Regions from separate parts of the Homo sapiens genome. Here all the other regions are linked to region 2. The links are contacts of gene promoters, found by promoter capture Hi-C in human tissues and cell types (Jung and others, 2019). All regions are on one chromosome and are shown on one strand. The core of a region is centred on a gene start or on the middle of the fragment in contact, and the rest is flanking DNA. Distances in the headings are between cores, read along the strand shown.

What was found. Contacts are between HindIII fragments. The study calls those that stand out against the background at their distance.
Region 1: a contact is called between a fragment that was not itself captured here and the fragment with the promoter of PPFIBP1 in region 2, in 3 of the 25 tissues and cell types used here (adrenal gland, mesenchymal stem cells and ovary).
Region 3: a fragment that was not itself captured here is called in contact with the fragment with the promoter of PPFIBP1 in region 2 in 11 of the 25 tissues and cell types used here (IMR-90 fibroblasts, aorta, bladder and 8 more).
Region 4: a fragment that was not itself captured here is called in contact with the fragment with the promoter of PPFIBP1 in region 2 in 2 of the 25 tissues and cell types used here (liver and thymus).
Region 5: a contact is called between a fragment that was not itself captured here and the fragment with the promoter of PPFIBP1 in region 2, in 3 of the 25 tissues and cell types used here (H1 embryonic stem cells, aorta and hippocampus).
Region 6: a fragment that was not itself captured here is called in contact with the fragment with the promoter of PPFIBP1 in region 2 in 2 of the 25 tissues and cell types used here (adrenal gland and hippocampus).

Annotation. Positions count from the first base shown.
Region 1 is chr12:27,622,231-27,625,854 of GRCh38, forward strand. The region is part of intron 2 of PPFIBP1 (PPFIB scaffold protein 1); the gene reads left to right. Among named protein-coding and RNA genes, the nearest start is that of REP15, 72 kb to the right of the region's middle. The HindIII fragment of the contact is 5,434 bases long and covers 1-3,624 here.
Region 2 is chr12:27,521,926-27,525,548 of GRCh38, forward strand. PPFIBP1 (PPFIB scaffold protein 1) reads left to right here and starts at 2,281. Exons shown (of 30, transcript NM_003622.4): 1 at 2,281-2,440. RefSeq lists enhancers at 1,098-1,699, 1,597-2,056, 2,303-2,903. The HindIII fragment of the contact is 12,160 bases long and covers 1-3,623 here.
Region 3 is chr12:27,447,411-27,451,227 of GRCh38, forward strand. All of the region lies in intron 1 of SMCO2 (single-pass membrane protein with coiled-coil domains 2), which reads left to right. Among named protein-coding and RNA genes, the nearest start is that of SMCO2, 2.6 kb to the left of the region's middle. The HindIII fragment of the contact is 8,253 bases long and covers 1-3,817 here.
Region 4 is chr12:27,398,828-27,402,801 of GRCh38, forward strand. BMAL2 (basic helix-loop-helix ARNT like 2) reads left to right here. Exons shown (of 17, transcript NM_020183.6): 10 at 1,707-1,947; 11 at 2,430-2,536; 12 at 2,697-2,847; 13 at 3,792-3,850. All of the region lies in intron 1 of BMAL2-AS1 (BMAL2 antisense RNA 1), which reads right to left. Among named protein-coding and RNA genes, the nearest start is that of BMAL2-AS1, 46 kb to the right of the region's middle. The HindIII fragment of the contact is 4,832 bases long and covers 1-3,974 here.
Region 5 is chr12:27,428,450-27,432,340 of GRCh38, forward strand. All of the region lies in intron 1 of BMAL2-AS1 (BMAL2 antisense RNA 1), which reads right to left. It also overlaps a transcript of SMCO2 not described here. Among named protein-coding and RNA genes, the nearest start is that of BMAL2-AS1, 16 kb to the right of the region's middle. The HindIII fragment of the contact is 6,575 bases long and covers 1-3,891 here.
Region 6 is chr12:27,601,529-27,605,468 of GRCh38, forward strand. The region is part of intron 2 of PPFIBP1 (PPFIB scaffold protein 1); the gene reads left to right. Among named protein-coding and RNA genes, the nearest start is that of PPFIBP1, 79 kb to the left of the region's middle. The HindIII fragment of the contact is 3,618 bases long and covers 230-3,847 here.

The DNA.
Region 1 (3,624 bases), core at 931-3,430, 100 kb after region 2:
TGATGTAACCTACTCCCAAGACACCTGGCCAGTTTGCCCCCCCAGAGCAGTGCTGCTCAAACCATCTCTTGGGAAAGACCATTTTGTTTTTCCATCATGAATTGATTCATTTTCTAAAATTCAATTTAAAAAGAAAATTGAGTTGCCAGCAGAATTATCACATAATTGGATATCACAGCAAGGCCAAGTTGCGATGTAATTTTTAAAACATTTATTCTCAATTTCTGTACTTACAGTAGACCGGTAACAGTTTGTGCACCAGCTCCAGTCCACAGACCATATTCTAAGCAATGCCACTTCAGTGGTTTTCACTCCAGTGGTTTTCAAACGTTTTTAACCCAGTATAAAGTATGCATTCGTAGGCTGTAAAACACATGAATGTGTAGACACCTGTGCAGACACACACACGCACATACTCTGAAACCACTGGAATGTCAGCCCCCTAAGGGCAGAGCTTCGCTTTTCTTGGTCTTTTTCACTGTTCTGCGTCTAATACCTGGCGCATAGGAGGCCCTCAATCAATATTTGTTGCAGGTATGTGTGTGTGTATGTGTGTGTCTGAATAATCAAATCAAAATTTTCACACGATAATGCTTAACCTTTACTCCTGATGAAATAGCCTTTTGTTGTCTATTTAATAAAAAGAAATACTGATTTTAGTCTAATAATTCTATTTCAGTACATTCTAATTTTAGGAGTCGTGACCCATGGTTTATAAAACATTCCTTTAGAAGGTGCTCATGTATAGGAATTTATTATTCTTTTCTTCTTCACAACTTTGAGTAGCTGTTGCTCACTCCTGTCTTCCTATGGGTATACATATCCCAGAACTGCTTATATCTAGGAAGCAGTCCATGTAGCCTGCATACATTAGGTTGGTAGGCCTGTGAAGGAAAATAGAGATAGATGAGTCTCCAGGTTTTAAAGAGTTAAAAAGAAGGGAAGAATGAGGTTAGAGTTAGAGTGGGTAGAGCAATAACAAGTTGAAACAGACCCGCTGATACTCCTCCATAATACTGGGGACTAAGTTTGCAAACTCTTAGGAATAATGTCATTCCAAAATAGTACAATGAATTTGATTCGCCTACATCTCAAAGAGCATGAAATTTCAGTTTTTAAGATTGTGGATAGCAAGGCTAATAATAATGATCGCATTTATCTAAATGTATCTTAAAATTTAAGGTCATGGCTCGGTGCAGTGTCTCACATCTGTAACCCCAGCACTTTGGGAAGCCAAGGGGGAAAGGATTGCTTGAGCTCAGGAGTGTGAGACCAGCCTGAGCTATATAGCGAGACCTGGCCTCTACTAAAAATAAAAATTTTAAAAATCAGCTGAGTATGGTCGCACCCACCTGTGGTCCCAGCTAGTGGGGAGGCTGAGGTGGGAGGATCACTTGAGCCCAGAAGGTCAAGGCTGCAGTGAGCCGCGATCATGCCACTGCACTCCATCCTGTGTGACAGAGCCAAGACCTTGTCTCAAAAAAAACAAAACAAACAAAAAAACAAGTAAAGGTCAAGATGTAGTTTTCTGGCTTATGCAGCTAAGAGGAAGGTGATATTATCAGCCAAAACAGGGCATATGGGAGCCAGGATACTTAAGACATCAGAGTGTGTGTGTGTTTGCGGAGCCACTGAGTCATAGCTGCACACAGCAAGCATTTGGTGTCCACCACACTAGAAGATGCGGAGCAGATAGCAGAAATACAGTCTGTTTTCAAGGAGCACACAGCTTCATCCAGGAGACAATCACTGTAAAATCAGGGCTGTCATGGAGGTGGCGGTCAGGCTGGCCTTGGAGGAAAGAATGCATGACCCACCTTGAAAAACATGTGTCCCAGGACAAAGAAGAGGGTCCAAGCAGTAGGGGGATCAGTGCATGTCATGGCACAGAGGTGAGAGGGCAGAAGTGTCTTCTAAGGAGGGCATGTCTTTGCAGTATGGTGGGAGGCCGGCAGTCCTGTACATAGTTTATGGTTTGGATTAGAAACTACCAAATGAGTGAGAGGCATATGTGGGAACAATATGGCTTTTAGACTCAAATCTCACTTATTCAGTGACCTTGAACAAATTCCTAACTCCTCCGTGTAGTCATAACAATAGCTAGTAAGAGTAGATATGGAGAATTGCAGCTTTCTTTCAACTTGTCACAACTTATCACAAGATCTTCAAATCTACTGACATTTAATACACATCAGTTTTTCAATAGCAGCAGCATCCTTTATTCGAGAAGTAAAAGATCTTGGCTTATTGTATGAAACTTTTCATCAACTCTCTTCTGGTTATTCCTAAGCATTAATAGCAGAGAGCCAGAAGGCTCATTTCCTTTTACCTCATCCTATTTTCCCTTGCTGCTTCATTTACTTGATTACTTACTAGCTTTGCCTCTTTGTATTTTGTGGCGTTTCATTTTAGTGAACAAGAGAAGTAACTTTTACTAATGTATTGTCATTAATACGCCCTCTTTTGTACTCTGCCTTACAATCCTCTGTGAGTGGCTGTTCCATTTCCTGAATAGCGTGTGCATGTGTGTGTTTGTATTTGTGAGGGTGGTTAAAGTAACAAGTGTTTTATTATTTGGTTTATAAATATTTGGTGAGCCCTTAGTATGCTTGAGGTTATGATAGAGAAATAAAATATCTAAGACAATATGTCATGGTTGAAGGTGTTGAAAATTTTGTGGTTTAAATACATGGATGAAAAAACTGAAACGTTTTATTATGGAAAGCTTCAAATATATAAAAATATAGATAGGATACCCAACTGGGTGCAGTGGCTCACACCTCTACTCCCAGTACTTTTGGAGGCTGAGGTGAGCAAATTGCTTGAGCCCAGGAGTTCAAGACCAGCCTGGGCAACATGGCGAAACCCTGTCTCTACAAAAATAAGCCAGGTGTGGTAGTCCCAGCTACTAGGGAGGCTGAGATGGGGGGATTGCTTGAGCCCAGAGAGGTTGAGGCTGCAGTGAGCCATGTTTGCGCCACTGCACTCCAGCCTGGGCGATAAAATGAGACTGTTTCAAAAAATATTTGTATAGATGGATAGAATAGTATAGTGTACCCCTACATACCACCACCCATTTTCAACAATTATCAACTTATGGCTAATCTTGTTTTATTAATATCTTTACCCTTATTTTATTCTATTTTATTTTAAAGCAAATTCCAAATGTTGTATCATTTTATCCATGAGTATTTTGTAACTTGTCTCTAAAAAATAAGGACTCAAAAAAGATAAGTATAATAGCATTATTAATAACCTTAGAATGACAGTAAGTCCTTAATATCAAATACACACTGTTCAAATTTCCAGTTATATCATCCATTCTATACTTATTTTACAGTTTTTTACAGTTTTTTTTTTTTTTTTTGGAGACAGAGTCTTGCTCTGTCGCCCAGGTTGGAGTGCAGTGGCACTCCAATCTCAGCCCACTGCAATCTCAGCCTCCCAGGTTCAAGTGATTCTCCTGCCTTAGCCTCCCGAGTAGCTGGGACTACAGGCACATACCACTATGCCCAGCTAATTTTTGTATTTTTAGTAGAGATAGAGTTTCCCCATGTTGGCCAGGCTGGTCTCGAACTCCTGACCTCAAGTGATCTGCCCGCCTTGGCCTCCCAAAGTGCTGGG
Region 2 (3,623 bases), core at 1,031-3,530:
TATTTTAAAGAGGAGGTAACTGAGATTCGGGATGGATGTTTTAGTGACTTGCCCAAAGTTACCCAATAGCTAAGTGGCAGAGCCAGGCCAAGAACCTTGAGTCCTTTTCTCTGTCCACTGTAACACACAGCTAAGTCTTGGCAGAGGACAAGGACTTTAATTTAATTAGGCTTTGAGAGAAGGGTGGGACTTAACCCACAGAGGAGTGGGGATTTCGGTTAGGCTGAAAGGTGAGAACGAAGCAGGGATCTGTGAGTAGACCTGTTTGACTACAGAGAGGGTTTCCTGGGAGCGAAGTGGGAGATAAGCTGGGAAAGGTAAGAAGCAGGATAAGAGAGAGTTTTAAATGGCTAGATAAGAATTGCAGGGAAAGGGGGACCTGATTTAGAGGGGAAGATGTTGATGACAAAACCAAACATTTTAGAAAACTCATCGGTAGTGAGTGGTACAGAGAAATAATTAGAACTGGGGGAAACTGGAGTCAGAAATTCAAGTCAGGAGTTTGGAATACTGCAGGTCTGACAAGCAACAAGATGGTAATTATATAAAGTAGGTCTGTGAGAGCAGTGGCCCAAGCCTGTGGATTTCTTGTAGCATTCTATTGTTTGAAAAAGTATAAATTATGGACACTCAATACTTGAGATATAGAAAGAAAATCAATGGCTTTGGAGTCAAATAGACCTCGGTTTCAATCCAAGTTCTAGCTGATTTGGAGAAATTTACTTACATAACTTTGCTGAGCCTTTGATTCCTTACGTTAAAATAGGGCTAGTAACACTCAATTTACAGGATGATTGAGAAGATTAAACAAGACACAATGCTGGATTCTGTGCATCCCTCTACAATTTTTGGCAGATCGGTAAATGTATGGCATGTCATCAATCAAAAAACAATGAGGCCTGGTGTGGTGGCTCACGCCTGTAATCCCAGCAGTTTGGGAGGCCGAAGAGGGTGGATCACCTGAGGTCAGGATTTCGAGACCAGTCTGGCCAATATGGCGGAAACCCCGTCTCTACTGAAAATACAAAAATCAGCCGGGTGTGGTGGTGGGCGCCTGTAGTCTCAGCTACTCGGAGGCTGAGGCAGTAGAATCACTTGAACCCAGGAGAAGGAGGTTGCAGTGAGCCAGATCATGCCACTGCACTCCAGCCTGGGTGGCAGAGTGACCTGTTTAAAAAAAGAAGAAAAAAAAGAGAAAGTTATTAATTCACTATATTTTTAGAAGATGGTGGGTTATATGCTACCTATATCTCATACAAATAAAGCTGCTTTTCACCATTCAGGTCTGCCTGTAAGCAGCATCTGCCTTGAAAGAACCATTTTCTGAGAATCTTTTTCTTCTGTCAGCCAAGGGGATTATACCGCATGATATCTGTCAAGGATAAACGTTAGTTAATTCTTAATTGAGAGCTCAGCCACTACAATTGGTTCCATTCTACAGTAATTATTCTCATGTGGTTTGTGGAACTCAATTGTGAGGTCCCTCCTTCCTCCACCCTTTTCAGTGTGTGCATTGAAACAGCAGCCTTAAGGTCTTTAAACGGGGAAATACATTTTTCTTGCTTCAGAGATTCAATTTTACTTGCCCGAGAAGCTTGTGTGGTGTGATTTTCATCGCTAAAAGCAACAGCAGCCACATGGCTGACAACACCACCACTTAACAATTCAAAGCTCGGTCACCGTTTTCAGGAGTCTCTTCCAAATCTTTCTGAAGTGCTTTTGAAGTTCTACATTCCCCGTCTAAGGGAACACCCAGCAGTCCCAGGATAAAAGGGCAGAAGGGTGAGCTGACGTTTTCCTTTATTTGCATGGCTTAAAGCTAGCCATTTTCTACACCACGCGCCGCCGGGCTTGTACATGCCCGTGTGCCTGTGACACCGAGGCAATTGTTTCTCCTTAAAAAGGGGGTTCGCGTGGGTTAGTTTCGTTTCTGATCTGGAATCTCAGTAACTACAACAAGAAAAGTTTAAAACTCGACCCGCCAGGTTCTTCCCCATCGGATTATCTCCGTTCCTTAGAGATAGCAGGAAGGGCAGCATTTTCTTCCATCCACCCACTTCCAGCCCTAGTCTGGCTCAGCGAGGAATGCATAAAATTAGTGGACTCCTCTGAGTGACGTTCCCCGGCTCCAATCAGCGGGCGCGCAGGCGCCCCCGGCCCCGCCCCACTGCTGACTCTCTTTGGCTGATTCCTGCAGGGAGGGAGGAGAGAAGGGCGGCAGTGGGAGGGGGAGGTACCTGGAACTGGGAGTGATGTCAGCTCCCAGCTCGGTGCCTGCCCGGATTCCTGACATGGTGTAGTGCAGGCAGGGTGGGGAAAGGACGGGGAAGGACTCGTGTGCTGCGAGCTGGCGGCCGGGCCGGAGTGCTGGGGCTTTGAACTCCGAGAGGAGGTGGACCAGAACTTTTGGAACTAGTGCCGGCGGCTCTCCACCCCCCAGGTAAGGGCGTTTTGCTCCACTCCCAGACGGGAGGGAAGTGGCACCGTTGTGTGGCTGCAGCTGGCTGTTGCAGCTGCTCCTCCTCTTCCCCGGGTCGATTTCCTTGTGCAACTCACTCCTGTTTCCCAATGGGAACGGGCACTTTTTGGGGGTGGTGGGGGTGGAGGGGTAGGGCTTAACTCCTGGGGCTTGGACCGAGCTTGTACGTGAAGAATACTCCAGGATTGGACGTTTAGGTCTTGTCTGTATCCTTAGACCCCCACACCCTAGGCTCCCGGTAATACCTGAGAACCCCAACCAGAGGGGCGTGTGTGTCTCTCTGTCTGTGTGTATTGAGGCATTTAAAAATGCCACAAAAAATTATGGATCATCGACTCAAAAATTATGCTCGTTGAAAAGAAAAAAAAAGTTTTGTATTTTTTTGTCTCCTTGTGGCCTATTATATATTAAAAGAATATCAATGTTAGTCTTATATATCAATGTAAAATATCCTTTTGTGTAATCCAGTCAGGATGTGAGAAATTCACTTGGGGTGTTTATTAATTATGAGCTTGCGGGAAAACTCGTCTCTTGGGGGCACACTTCTAAAACTGCAACTAGTATTCACTCATTTTAACCGAGAAATCCCTTCAGCTGCCAGCTTTATATCTGGAGAGGTTAGGATGGCTGCTGAGAATCTTCAGATCTGTTTCCTGTGGCTGCTTGAGGGGCGAGCTGGTAGTTGTGTTTTCAGGGATCTTTTTTAGAGAAGGGAGTTTTAACAGGGAAACGCGGTGGAAGGCGTGGCATATAAACTCTTAATTATAGGGACGTGAAGTTTTCAACATGTGGGACCAAAACAAATCCTTGCTTTCAGTAAGAACTGCGGAGAGCAATAGAAAAAGAACTTGATTTCAAAGTCCAAGTTTGGTATTTTGAGAAAGCAATTGCGGGAGGAAAAAGATACTTTTAAGAAGTGAAAGAATAGAATTCTGATTTTTGTTTATTTCCTATTTCAAACCCTGTCTTTTTCCTATGTGGAGATTTTGTGTGCCCAGGTCACTAACTGGGTGTGATTGACTTTCTCGAGGGGGCGGGGAAATTGACTCCATACACCGATTCAGGACCCTCTCATCAGTGCTTTAAGGCTCTCTTTTGGAGCAGGAAGGAAAAAAAAAAAAAAAAAAAAAAAGTAAGCGCTGAG
Region 3 (3,817 bases), core at 922-3,421, 75 kb before region 2:
CTAACAGGGTGATCCATGGACCAGCTGCAACAGCCTCTTCGGGAGCTTGTTAGAAAGGCAGAATCGGCCAGGTGCGGTGGCTCACACCTGTAATCCCAGCACCTTGGGAGGCCAAGGTGGGAGGATCGCTTCAGCCCAGGAGCCTGAGACCAGCCTGGCAACACAGCAAAACCTTGTCTCTATAAAAAATACAAAAACTTAGCTGGGCATGGTGATCCGCATCTGTAGTCCCAACTACTCGGGAGGCTAAGGTGGGAGGAGGTCAAGGCTGCAGTGAGTGGTGATCGCAGGCTGGGAGACAGAGCAAGACTCTGTCTCAAAAAAAAAAAAAAAAAGCAGAACTTTAGGCCTCACTCCAGACCTCCTGAATCAGAACCTACATTTTAACAAGATCCTAGAATGATTCACATTTACAGTAAAATTTGAGAAACTGTTTTCGGGCTTCTGTAGATGTACTTTCTCTGGACTTACGCGTCTGAGCCCCAGAAACTCAGCCGAGTGCCTCTCCTATGTGCTGCCACCGCAACCTTCCCTAGCACTTAACACATTGCACCTGACCAGAGCCAAGTGGCCTGCAAGCTCCGCAGGGACAGGAACTGTATCTTTACGCATGCTTGCATTCTCCACTCCAGCACAGTACCTGACACATAGCAGATGCTCAAAAATAGTTATCAATTAAATACATGTTTTTAGAAACAAGTAGAGAAAGTATTAGCTTTCCGGTTAGAAAATTTTGGACTTAAGTTCTTGATTTACCACTTACTAGCTGTAGGACCTTGAACAAGTCACCCTCCTCCCAGAAGTTGTTACTCATTGTTAAATTGAGAATATTATCAAGTACCCTACAGAGGTGTTGTCAGGATTAGTGACATAATAGATGTAAACCCAGAATGCTATGTCTGCCAGGTCAGAATTGCACGATAAAGAAGAGTGCCCTCCGCCTTAGTTCTCCCAAGCGGCAAGTCTTTACTGAGTTTAGTAGAATACTACTTGTTGAAATAGAAAGGGTGGCCACACTTGAACTTAATGCCATTTTTCTTTCTATTTTCCCCCAACTGCATAAAAGCAAAACCAAATAAACAAACCTGAGAATTGAACTGGAATCAATGCTTTTCTCGGCATTGTGTCAGAAGAACAAAACTTAAACTGGGGCCAGCAGACCCTTAAGCTCCTTAAGCCAGGCTCTGGGACCCTTGGGATTAAATTTTTAAAATCCTCTCTCCAGTTCTAAACAAAAGTAAACAAGGGAACCTTTTATAATGTGGTTCAAGGTGAGGCAGTAAACAAATGACCTTTAAGCAGAATAATCAGCTTAATATGTACTAGCTGGAGGTTAACATTTGCATTGAGAAAGGTCTTATGGTCTTATTGATAATTCACTCGGAGGTCACTCTAACATCCTCTACCCTCATTCTCCAACCACATGATTCTCTAAACCCCTCAATCTCCCGCTCCCACACATAGTCTACCAGTTGACCAAATAATGAGAGAAGAATGGAATTGTCAAACCAGAATCAAAGGGGTAAAAGACAGAAGGACTTTGAAAGAGGAGAAAGAGAAGGCAAGCGGTGGGAAACTGTCCATCCACTGCAGACTCAAGTGTATGTTGGCTCAAAAAGTTGAGGACTAAGGCCAGCCTAGGTCTCAGCCACCCTGCAGGCTTTGTGTGGGTCTGAAAACTTGACCTGATTATATGCTCCTAAGTGTTCTAGACTGGCTAAACCAAGACTGTTGAATTATAAATCATGCCACCCCTGCACCCGCTTCCGTGATCACAAAAAAAACATAATGCTAGCGTTATTAGATAAGCCGCAAAGGTCATCAAGGTGTTTCTTTGAACTGCCACACCCAAACGAAATACTTGCTCTGATCTTTGCATAAACAACATTTGGATGAACAAACATTTCATACTTTCGTTATGTTTATCTTTGTAAGGGACAAAATCTGTCACCTGCTGCATACTTCTGAAAAAATTATAGGAACAAGTTGACATACTTTCTCAATTATACAGAATTCTCTGCAAAAATGAAATTATTAAAATTAATTGTGAGAAACACAGGAAACTGCTTATGGAGGGATCACAGTAAGAGACTGACAGAAGGGAGTAATGAGGCTTCTCCTCCATTTCCTTCTTGGAAACTTTTTCTGCACAGAGAAAATGTGGTTGAAAACCTATTGTGCCTTGGATTGAGTTAAAGGTCACACCCAAGGATTTATACAGATTTAGTTCTCATCTGGTCCCTTGAAGGGGGGAAAAGTTAAAATATCCAATACAAATCCATTGAGTGATGCACTGATAACACCAATTATGTCCCACTCCCCTCTTGGTACATTGGACTTCTATTTCTCTGGCTGGGTATTTCCATTGTCCTATAATACAATGACAGGCTCTTACAAGGCCAGTTTTCCCCCATTAGAGAACCAAAAGGAGGGGCTGAGCCCATTTCTTGGGCTTTAATGCCTGGCTACGTGGGTCCGAATCTCTAGCTAAGCCCTTCCTGTAGGACTGTTGAAAGACTCGAGCAGGCAGCCCTGCCTTTGCTGCCTCCCTTCATTCGTTCTCACCTCCATCCATTCATCGGCCAGTTTTAGCTCATGACCCCTACTCCAATCATAATTGTCTCCTCTTAAGTCAATCTTATCAAATGCTGTGCGGAATGGATTCTGTGGGCCACATTCAGGAACACAGAGTTCTTCCCAGCTCAGCTCTGCTCCTCTCAGGGTAGAGGTCTGTGGAGCCTCTGGCTGCCTGTCCTGTTCTGAGGGTCACACCTGGTCACCAAAACATATTCTCCTCAAGGCTGTTGACCTTCCTTTCTTGATTCAGGCCTTGCAATCCCTACCTTGGGAAGGAGGCAGGCACCCTATTTCTCTGGCCCTCCTCCCTCCCTGCCCCCACCCCCCACCAACTAGGCTGGGCTGCCTGACAAGCACCATGTGACCTCGCCTGTTTCTTCTGATGCCCAGTTTCCACTGGACCTCTGTGTCCTCATTACAAATGAATTTTATCAACTAGCTGAGGCTTCTTCTCACCTAGTTTGTTAAAATCCAACACTAGTAAGGCTAGGACCATTCCTTCAGTGCAAACAGTGTGCTGAAGATGAGTGTAAGTTAACATTGATTTTACCCTCAGCGGCTCCTGGGAAGCCATACTTCAGGACTGGTAAATCAGCACGAGGAGGATCACAACCCAAAGTGCTCACAGAGGGAGCAGTGCTGCCAATCTTTATCTAAACCAGGAACAGAGAATAGATGTTGAAAAGAATGCTCACTGGTGAAGGACTGTTCCTAGATTTTTTCTAAGTATTCTTATAGCTATTTAGAAATTGACTTTCAAGAATATTTGCCTGTCTCATAAAATTAAATAACAATTCTATATTAAGGTAAAATGGGCTAAATCTTTTTAGGTGGTGTTTTCTTGGTCTTTTTGTATGATTGGCTTCATACAGTGAGTACTGCAAAGTTATGTCCATGAACGAGGCTATCCTCACAGGGAAAGAGTTGCTGCCCTAAATAATTTCTTGGGAGGAGTGAAAGAGAAATTTTAGAAGCTTTAGGAGACACTGATTTATTCCAAAGAATTCTAGATTTTGATAAACTTTACAAATTGCCAAGCCGAGGCTCTCATTCATCTTTTCTCATGTAAATAATAGAAAGATACAAATATATCTGTCATTTATTTTACTACTACAGATAGTTATTATTTACTATTTGTTCTCTGTCCAAAATTTCAGATTACAGTTAATTCTCATTATACCTGGTAGTTCTGTTCTGTAGAGTCTCTGTGAACACTGAATTAGCAAATGCAAAACTGTTG
Region 4 (3,974 bases), core at 1,154-3,653, 120 kb before region 2:
TTCATAAGTTTGCAAAAATGCTGAACCTGATGTATAAGCCCTTTTATTTTTAACTGCCATCTAGCTTTGTTAAATGAAAACTTTTATTCGTACTTACTCAATTTTAATTCCTTTGAGGCATCTGGGTTGTTAGGGGGAGGTAGAGCCTAGGATGACCCCCAGATTTCTCTTTGAACTGCCTGGGTTGATCGTGGCACCAGTAAACAGGGTAGGGAATAAGTGATAAAGACTGGGTTTGGGTTGGAAGAGGTAAGGAGTTTTGTAATTTAGGGCATCTGTGGCCTGGGAAGGGAGTGGTGTTTGTGAAATGTTGGATACAAGGTTTTATGCATGGCTTACAACCTGCCCTCTGTTCCCTGCTTTATTTTCCAGCCTTTCCCACTGCAGCATATGCTTCAGCCGCATCTGACCGCTCTCTCTCAGTTCTCACTGGTCATTCCCTCTGGCTGGAACACCTTTGTGCCCCTCCCCTTCTGTCACCCAGGCAACTCCTATTTGAACATCTTTGGTGACAGAGCACTCACTATCAGCAAATGGTGTGGCATTAGTGATTTAGAAAGTGGGCTCTGGAGCCAGCCTGAGTTTTAACCCCAGCTCCATCCTGTACCTGGTGTGACCTTGCCATTAACTCAGTTTCCTAGGACAATGGAGATACTAGAACATCCCATAGAGCTGTTAAGATTAAATGAGTTATACGTTTAAAGCACTTTAAACAGACTGTGACACATAAAGTATTCTCTAAATCTTTGCTATTATTGTTAACTACTATCTTATATGACAGTTCATATCATGTTCTATTTAAACAAAAATTTAAAGGATTTATTGTAATGGAACTTTTACCAAATAGTGCCAATTTGAAACAATGATTGTTCTAATCTTTTCTAAATCTTATCATAAAAACAGCTGTTTCAAATAATTTTTATCAGGCTTTCCCCCTACTTTTTAACCTTTAAATCACTTTTGTGGCATGCCATAATCTGTAGCCTACTCATTGTTTATGCCCGTATTGGATTTATTTTTTGCTTAAGCATGATATTTGAGGATATAGATTATTTCCAATTTTTTATTATTTTGGTGGACATGCTTGACAAGCTTCTTCCTATGAGTTAATTGCTTGGGATTTTCCTAAAAAGTGAAATTTATTTTATTTTTGTACTTTTCACTATAAATTTCTCCAAGTGTTCTTTAAAATGTTTCTATAATCTATTATAACCTTATGTATCTGTTAACCATTATAAGCACTAACATAAGAAATTTAAGAATGTATGCATAATTATTTAAATGTCTTTTTAAAGTTTTGAATATAAGTTACGATATACCAAAAAACTTAATAAGGTGAAAACAATATTGCAAGGGGGCATGAGGATTAATTTTTTCTAATAGATGTAAATTACTATAATTTTAAAAATTGACTTGGAAATATGTTAAGTCATAGACCTAGTTAATCCTAAAATAGAGCAACCTGTTCGTTTTTTCATGTAGTACATACAATTTAGTTCCTGAGAAAAATAATCTATTAATAATAAAGTCATGAAATAAACAAAATTGGTGATATCTTTTCAATGGAATACCATTCCCCTTTCATATTTTAGCATATTTAAAGAGCATTTTATAGCACAATTATAACTATTATAGATGTCAATATAAGAAATTTAATGACTTATTTATAATGATCCAAATGTCCTTTTTAAAAATCTTTGAATTAGAGCACAGAAAATTCTATACTATCCATTGCACTGGTTACTTGAGAAGCTGGCCTCCAAATATTGTTGGAATGGAAGAAGAAAGGAACAGTAAGAAAGACAACAGTAATTTTACCTGCCTTGTGGCCATTGGAAGATTACAGCCATATATTGTTCCACAGAACAGTGGAGAGATTAATGTGAAACCAACTGAATTTATAACCCGGTTTGCAGTGAATGGAAAATTTGTCTATGTAGATCAAAGGTAAACATTTACATGTTATAATGATTAGAATTCAATGGGATATTTGAAGCTATTAAAGGCGTGTCTTAGTAGCACTGCTAGTTTTTCTTTTTCTTTTTTCTGTTTCAGAACAGAAAATAAAGTTTAAATGAAATAAGAATATGGACATGTCAGTAAATTTGCTTAAGCCAACATGTAAACTTGGAAGAGTGTCTCTTAGCCAGTGGTGCAGAAACTGGGCATGATCTGTGGCCACGATTTTACTGGCAAAAGCTAGTAGGAGCACAGCCTGGATCGGGTGGAGGCTTCATGCCTGGGTGCCTGTTCTGTGTTGCAGCTCTAGTCTGGGTCTAGGGCAGCCGAGGGGAGCCCAGTGATATGCATGGGTCACTCATCCCCTACCCTGTGCACTTCTTTACGATCCTGACCATATGTGGGCCTACAGTCTTCTGGGAGGGAGTACACTCACCACTTCTGAAGTTTATTTTCAATTTTGAAACCAGGGCAACAGCGATTTTAGGATATCTGCCTCAGGAACTTTTGGGAACTTCTTGTTATGAATATTTTCATCAAGATGACCACAATAATTTGACTGACAAGCACAAAGCAGGTAGGTATGCATTGAGCAGAATACATTTTGGGGAATTTAAAATGACAGTTTTAACTCTTAATTTCCCATTCCTGTGAAATTTGAAGTTTGAATTAATCTTCACAACATTGATTTTTATAGTCATTGACTATTATGCTGATAATTATCTTTTCTCGTTAAGTTCTACAGAGTAAGGAGAAAATACTTACAGATTCCTACAAATTCAGAGCAAAAGATGGCTCTTTTGTAACTTTAAAAAGCCAATGGTTTAGTTTCACAAATCCTTGGACAAAAGAACTGGAATATATTGTATCTGTCAACACTTTAGTTTTGTAAGTAATTTTTTATGTTAAGACCTTTATATTGATTTCAAATGAGTCTCTTTGCTTTTCTCCTCTCATCTTGCTAAACCATTAAAACTGTGTGATCCTCTGGCCTTTTATTGTAACTTGAGATTTATCTTTTGAGTAATTCATTTACTGTTCATTGACATTAGTTCTCAGAATTAAGCTAAAAGTTTTCATTTCTGTAATACATTCCTTCTTACTTGATATAATATGTGAGGGTAAAGGCATTTATTCAAGCATTTTCTTCCTACCCTCCATGGCCATTCAGTAAACAATGCAGACGTGGATTTCTACTGTGCATTATTGTAAGAAATTGTTTTGTCCTCCCTGTCATTTTTACCTGCACATCTTATAAGCCTGGGGTGCCGCCATGTCTGTGTAGGCATGCTCAGCACGGGGGAGAACAGAAATCCAGCCCAGGTGTTGCTTTAGCAAGCTCTGGTCTGTAGCTGTGTCAGCCTGAAGGAAGAGTCAAGTTTTCCTGATTTTATAGGAGGCTAGGATGGCCCCGTTGTAAGTCTTACTTTTTTTCTGTAAGTTTCTCTTTGAAATTGCTGTAAGGTTTCCTTGAACCAGTTATTTCCTTGTCTACAATACTGAGAGAAAAATAATAAAAAAAAAAAAAGTTTAATACTTCCAGTATTTCCTGTCACCCATCCCAGTAGTCTTTGCCTACTTATTATTAGTACAGGAACTGAGAGTTTGTTATTGTGAGAACACATACTTTATAGAGGAATGGGGCATTTGGCAAACACCATGATACTTAGCACATTAAGACCTTGATTTCTGGTGGTGATACTAACAATATGTGTATATAAAACATAAATGGGCCACAAATTGACAAATTAAATATACAGATCTTAGTGTAGTTGCTATAACAGTTTCCTTCACCTTAGAAAGTAAATCACCTATGGTGTTTTTAATTCTAGGGGACATAGTGAGCCTGGAGAAGCATCATTTTTACCTTGTAGCTCTCAATCATCAGAAGGTAAGCTTACTTTTAGATGATGGAAGACTTATTACTAAGACATATTATTAAGACTATTACTATCTTTTTCTGTCCTGGAGAGGGGAAAATTTGAAGGTGAAATTAAAAGTAGTTCTGCAGGTTG
Region 5 (3,891 bases), core at 148-2,647, 94 kb before region 2:
ATGTGAGCCTCAATCTTTTTGTTTGGCTGTTTTGGTTGTTTTTTGTTGAGGAGGGGAGGCAAGGCAGAGAAAGCTGTGTCACACCTTTTTAATGTTAATCTTGGCCACCTTTTTTTTTTTTTTAAAATACTCAGCCACTAGTCACTGTGGAGGACTCTGTCCATTGCTTAAGGCATTGTGTGTTGAGGGAGTCAGTAAAGAATTGTCTTAAATTCTTGTCCAGCTGTGTGCCTCTGGCCTTGGAATGACAGTTTCTTAGACACTCCTGGCTCCTGGCTGACTTTAAGGCAATGCTTCTCACATTTACTCCTGTCCAGGAGGAAACCTGTTACATTTTACCTTGGGGGTAAATACATGAAATAAATGTACTTTTTTTTTTTTTTTTTTACAAAACTACACTAAAATGGGATGCCTAGATTACATAAACTTAAAACTTACTAGAGCCCTTGAAAATTTTATTCAATACTTTGTTGACTGAGCAATCACCCAAAAGGCTTCCCATCTACCAGAAGGGACATGTAGACGAATATCACATAATTAGCTGATGATTAAATTATTTGGCAGCCCATGAATGTTCAGTTTGATTTAGCAAAGGTCAAGCAAAACACAGTTGTAGTGTCTGAAATATCTATTCTTGAGGGAGAAAATGGACACATAGATTATATGTAAAATAATTAAAACTTATGGAGTAAAAAGACACTATTTCTTTGTAGTAACGTATTAGTAGCAGATTGCTTTTTAAATTTTTTTTCTGTTTGTAAAAGAACTTTACATTCATTTTTGGAAAATTCAGGATTATATAAAGGTGCTAAGAAGAAAATAAAAATCACCTAATAAAAAATTTTACCACCTAGTGAAAAACCATAGTCAACACTTGAGTAGTCTTTCTCTTTTTTCAAGGCCTTTATATTCTAATGACTTTTTTAAAGTTAGAATCCTACTGTTTAATACAAAAAAGAATAATAAAATTGTACAAAGTAATGCGTATATTGGTTAAAAGTCAGATAGCATTTGAAGTCATAAAATTACAAAAAAAAAAAAATAGTCCCCACCTTAGCCCTAATTCTTGTTCTCCAGAGCAACCACTTATACCTTTTTTTAGCTGATTATCATATTTATAGTTATGTTTCTAAGTATACTTTTATTGTCACTTCATGAATGGCCCAGAATGAGTATAGAATAGGAAGTCAACAATTCATTTAAATATTTCTTTATTATGAAGCATTTAGGATGTCGGAAAGTTTTGCTATTGTGGGTAATATGACAGCTAACATCCCTTCTAGACACACACATGCTGTACACCTCTCTCCTGTTGTTTAGAATGAATTTCTTGGAGTGCAATTGCCAAATCAAAATTGCCCAATTGCCATAAAAAACAGTTTGCATTCAGCATTCTTTCCAGAGTTAATTTTATGTGGTTAAATATGTTGATATTTCTTGCCTAATTTCTTTGTTGTTATGCTTAGGAGGGAAAACTTCTCCACCCCAAGATCAAATAAACACACACCTCAGTTTCCTTCTAGGTGTCCTGTGGTTTCGTAGTTTATACTAAAGTCTTTGATCTAGCTGAAGTTTATTTTGGCCTCTAATAAGATACAGGAGTCTATTTTTCTTTCCAAAATATTATGCCCTTTCTCCACAACTCTTCAATGACTAGTCCTTTCTTTTCCCACTGATTCGAAATGTTGCCATTACCATCGATTAAGTTCTTGTATATTCTGGTACTCGTTTTGAAATGAAGTAATGGTGGTGGTGGGCAGGGAGTTGAATTAATGTGATTGTCTGTTCTTTCACCAGTACCAAGCTGTTTAAGTTAATAAACACAGTAGAGTTTGATACTGATCTTTCCATTATGTGATAGTATATCACTTTTTCTTCTCTTATTTTCTGAAAAGTGTTCAAACTATAAAATATAGTTCTATATATTTTGTTTATAAAATATAAGAAAACAGAGGGAATAGTGGCTTTTTCTGACTTTAACATTTCCTTTTAAAGTTTTTAATTTATCAGACTACCCATCAATGAGGCAGGAGAATTGCTCGAACCCAGGAGGTTCCACTGTGTTAGAACCAAACTTTCAGAAACAGTTTGGCTGTGTTAGCATTCCTTTAAACTTTTGTTATATACAGAAATCTAATTCCAACATGTTTATTCTTGGAACCATCTGCCCAATGCTACAATCTGAATTCTCTTGCGTTGTTGAAATTTTGAGGGAATAAGAATAAAATCGAACCTTTATTAAATACTTACCGTGGCTGGCACAGTTCCTAAGCCTATTACACGTATTAATGTAAGCCTCCTAAGAATCCTGAAGATAAATGCTGGTATTATCCCCCATTTTACACACAAGCAAACTGGGGCTTAAGAGTTAAGTAACTTAACAAGGTTACCCCACCGCTCATAAGCAGTGGAGTTAGAATCCAGACCCGAGCAGCTCGATGCATGCTCTCAACTGTGATTTTGATAAACCTTTGATTTATTGTGTGCTCTCGGGGACCCTAACCCCCTGAACTCAAAGCACAGCAATTTCTTTTACAAAAGATATTTAGTTATGAAAAAACACATGAAATTTACTATCTTTTTTTTTTTTAAGACAGCTCTGTTGCCCCAGACTGGAGTGCAGTGGTGCGATCTCAGCTTACTGCAACCTCCGCCTCCTGGGTTCAAGCCATTCTCCTGCCTCAGCCTCCCTAGTAGCTGGGATTACAGGTGTGCACCATCATGCCTGGCTAATTTTTTAAATTTTTAGTAGAGATGGGTTTTCGCCATGTTGGCCAGGCTGGTCTTGAACTCTTGATCTCAAGTGATCCGACTTCCCAAAGTGCTCGGATTACAGGCATGAGCTACTGCACCTGGCCTCAATTTACTACCTTAACACTACTGAACCACACATTTAGTGGTTAACTGTAGTCATGTTGTTTTGCAACAGATCTCTAGAATGTTTTCATCTTGCAAAACTGAAACTCCATACCATTTCCTCTTCTCCTCAGCCACTGGCAACCACTGTTCTGCTTTGTTTCTAAAGATCGAATACTTTAAATACAAATACATGAAGTATTTGTCTTTTTGTGACTGGATTTCTCTTAGCATCATAGCCTCAATGTTCTTCCATGTTGTACCATGTGACAGAATTTCCTTCTTTTTTGAGGCTGCATAATATTCCATTGTAGATCACATTTTAAAAAAATCCATCCGTCCATTGAAGTACATTTAGGTTACTTCTACCTCTTAGCTATTATGAATAATGCTGCCAGGAGCATGGGTGTGCAAATATCTCTTCAAGATCCTACTTTCAATTCTTTGGACATATACCCAGAAGTGGGATTGCTGGATCATATGATAATTCCATTTTCTTTTTCTTTTTTTTAAGGTAAGAAATCTCCAAACTGTTTTCCGTAGTGGTTGTACCATTTTACATTGCAATCACCAGTGCATAAGGGTTCCAGTTTCTCCACATCCTTGCCAACTCTTATTATAACTCTTGTTATACTCCTATTATTCTGTTTATTGGATAGTAGCCATCCTAATGGGTGTGCAGTGATATCTCATTGTGGTTTTGATTTGCATTTCTCTAATGATTAGTGTTGTTGGGTGTCTTTTCGATGTTTGTTGGCCATTTGTATATCTTCTGTCCTCTGCGCATTTTTAAATCAAGTTATTTGGTTTTTTTGTTGAGTTGTAGGAGTTTTTAAAAATATATTCTGGATGTTAACACCCTATCAGATACATGATTTGCAAATATTTTCTCACATTCCATAGGTTGTTTTTTCACTCCACTTATTGTTTCCTTTGATGTGCAGAAGCTTTTAAGTTTGATGCAGTCCTACTTGTCTATTTTTGCTTTTGTTGCTTGTGCTTTTGGTGTCTATTTCCATCTCAGTTGCTGAAGCA
Region 6 (3,940 bases), core at 789-3,288, 79 kb after region 2:
CTTTCCCATGGTTGATAATTTAATTTTATGACAGTCTCTGAGTTATGTGTTTTCATTCTAATATTAAGTTGTGCAATTCAGAGGACCTAGATTCGCCTCCAGAGTCCAGGACTCCCTGCAGCCATGCTGCCTCTTTTGAGAACTGACCTCAGCTGAGTTGTTTATGCATCATGAGTTGACATAGTCCACAGTGCTAATAGAGGGGAACTACAGGTTCCCTCTCCCACAACTTTACCATCTAGCACGGCCATGAACACAACTTACAGACTGAATTCTGCCACACATATAAACATTTCATGGCCAGCAGGCACAAAAACATCACACAACCTTGTTCTGTAAGCTCCCAAACTGCTGTGCAACAGGATGGCCAGTAGCCACATGTGGCTACTAAAATTTAAATGGAATTAAACAAAAATTGATTCTTCAGTCACATTAGCCACATTTCAAGTGGTTAGTGACCACCTGAACTAGTGGCTACCTTATTAGTCAGGTGAACAAAATATTTATGTCATCTTAGAAAGTCCTGTTGGACAGAGCTGCTCTAGACAGTCCCTGTGCTCTGTCCTTTGGTTGGATCTGGAGAACATTGAGCAAAAAGTTTCATTAGAAGCAGATGGGACAATATTCTAGCGTCAGGATTGGGCTAACTTTCTTGACAGCATGAGGTGACTAAATTTCCTCCAAAGCATCTAGAAACAGGACTGAAGAGAGTCTTCAGCTGAGGACACCATTTCCCCCTCCCTACCCAGCTTTATTGAGGCATAATTGACAGATAAAAATTGTATATATTTAAGGTGTACAGTGTGATGATTTCATGTATGCATACATTGTGAAATGATTACCACAATCAAGTTTATTAACACATATTAACACATCTATCACCTCACTGTGTGTGTGTGTGAAATCTATATTGTAGCAGATTTCAAGTATATAAAAGAATATTAACTGTAGTCACCATGCTGTACATCAGATCCCCAGAACTTCAAGGTCTGAGGGCACCCTTTGAAAGACGTAGACAACTGAGCTAGATAGACTCTTATTTTCAGGTTATGCAAGAGTGGGGAAGTCTACAATACTTAGAGCCCATTATGAACACTGAAAAATCATTTGCAGCATTCATTATTCTAAGTAACAACCCTCTGGTATTCATCAGAGATAAACATGGTTGACTTGGTTTTCTGTTTACATGAGCTTTTGATTAGTCATTCAAATGCTAACTACCCCAGGGTATAGGTTAAAAATAATTACTACCCTTGTATCACAAAAATACCCATGTTGTAATGTTTTGAAAAATTGCAGACAATATGACTGCCTGTGTATAGATAGCCTCATTTAGTTTTTGCAACAACCCTTTCCAGTAGAAATTGCAGGTATTAATCTCATTTTTGTCTCTATTGAATTCTCCAATATGCTGTGGCCAGGCTATTGCATGATGGAACCAGTTGCTAAAGAAATTCAAATTGTTCGTATAGCTGCCAAACATACAGCCTTTCTTATTGTATTTTATAATGTCAAGGCTCCTACATACTTTGGGCCAAGCCTGATGGTGCTTCATGCAACACCAAATACAGGCAACCTACAGTCCTCTCCTCGCTCTCTGTTGGAATATTTTCTGTATTTTTCAAATCGTTATTAATTCAGCAACTGTGTGCATACCAGTTGAGTGCCTATCAGGTTCCAGGTGCTGCATCCTGCCACTTCTAGCTGCAGCAGGTTCATTTTTAACCTGGCTTTGCTGCATCTATAAAATAGAGATGATAATGTTGTCTTTGCAGAGTTTTTGAAATGATTATATATGTGGGATGTTCTGTAAATGGTTTATTTTTATTGCATAATTGAGGAGACAAACTCCTTCCTCTCACTTTCCTTGGCAATACCCTTCTGGGAAAAATGTTTGTATTTTATTCTAAAATGTCAGACATAGACTACTTTCCAACCCTGATTCCATATCAAAATCATGTGTGCACACAATAATTATACTTGGATTTATGTGATTATCTGACTATCTCCCCCACTGGATTGGAGCCTCCACCAGGGCAAGGTGGATCGAATTCATTCTAGGAAGTGTCAGCATCTGCCAACATGGTGCCTGACCAACAAACCCCTCCTGGATTCTGGCCATCATGGTTAGGGAACCACCAGAGTTAGCATCCTTTCGCAATGTTTCAATTGCATGAGAGCCACACTGGAGACCATTTCTAGTGCATCTCTAGTTGGGGTGGAAATGCCCAGAAGGGATCCTTTTGGGCTAAGCAGAGGTTTGGTGAAATGAGTGTCATCTAATCTGGATGTTCAGAGCCAACAGTTGTTCTTCTTTTGGCACCATTCTAAATTGGGTAGACAACCCCCTTGGTGGGAAGAATTTTGCACAAAATATGTTTGTGGGGAAGGAGGAGAGACATAGACTCCCTGGGTACTGTTACTTACATCAGAGGAAACAAGAAAGTACAGATCAAAGAGCAGAGTTGGCATTTTACTACTTATCCTTAAAGGACTAGAAGTCAAGTGATCAAAATGTGAAGACCTTTGTTCTAGTTCTCTAGGGGACTATAAAGAAAAGTGGGGATGGGGTGGAAGTAAGAGGTGGAAATGCTCAAGGTTGATTCTCTAAGTGGAACCCCAAGGGTTCAGAGGCAGACTGACTGGCGTCCAGCTCCAGACTAACCCAGTTGGAGAAAATGGAGATAGGAGGTAGCCTACAGTGTTTTTATTATATTATGGAAAATCAGAAAGATGATATATAGTATCTGAGTGAGTGAAGAATGAATGTAAATAGCAGTAAATGTGAATGCCTGTTATAATTAATAATTAACTTTAATTTAATTAGAGAATTGAGGATGAGCAGAACCGCAACAGGTGAGCCTGGATTGCAGGGTGGGGTGAGATGAGGGTTGGATGTCTCTTGGCATCTCTTTGGCTATTCTCATCAGTCATCACAGAGTTCCCATTAGTAGACCTGCCTGTGGGCCAAAACCTCCTGCCTGTAAATGATTTTGCTGATTTAGTGCTTTATATTTCTGTCCATCCTATTCTTAGCATAAATAAAGCTTTCTCTGCACTTCCCTGAAGCTAAATAAAATTAAGCTATGGGAGGCTCCCTGCCTCTCGCATGGATCTCCCAGAGCATCTGTGAATAGACGCTGTTGTGTGTGCACACAATGGTCTCCATTCAATTAGGAACCACTTGTGTACATCTCCTCTAGGAAGAGAGCTCTTTACCTATATTAGTCTGTTTTCACACTGCTGATAAAGACACACCCGAGACTGGGAAATTTACAAAAGGAATAGGCTTAATGGGACTTAACAGTTCCATGTGGCTGGGGAGGCCTCACAATCTTGACAGAAGGCAAGGAGGAACAAGTCACATCTTACATGGATGGCGGGAAGCAAAGAGAGAGCTTGTGCAGGGAAACTCCCATTTTTAAAACCATCAGATCTCATGAGACCCATTCACTATCACAAGAACAGCATGGGAAAGACCCCCTCCATGATTCAGTCATCTCCCACCAGGTCCCTCCCACAACACATGGGAATTGTGGGAGCTACAAGATGAGATTTGGGTGGGGACACAGAGTCAAACCATATGATTACCCAGAAAGCATTTATGGTGGCCTACCAGCTTGGGAAGTGGTTAACGAAAATGACATTGGTTAATGAAAACTATAGTCAAGGCTTTGAAAAATCTTGTAATGTGAAAACAACTTTAAAAAATTATAAAAACAATACAGTATGGGAAAATTAGAAGCTATAAGACAAAAGGGGGCAATATTTTTTAAAACCTACCAAGAGCAAAACTTTAGAGGTAGAAATTAGATCAGTGGTTGCCAGGAGCCCCTGGGGGTAGGGAAATGGTATAGGCTGCAGAAGGGTAAGGGGAGCACTGTGAGGGACAGAAATAATCCACATCAGCACTGTCCAATAAAAATGTAATTTGAGCCAC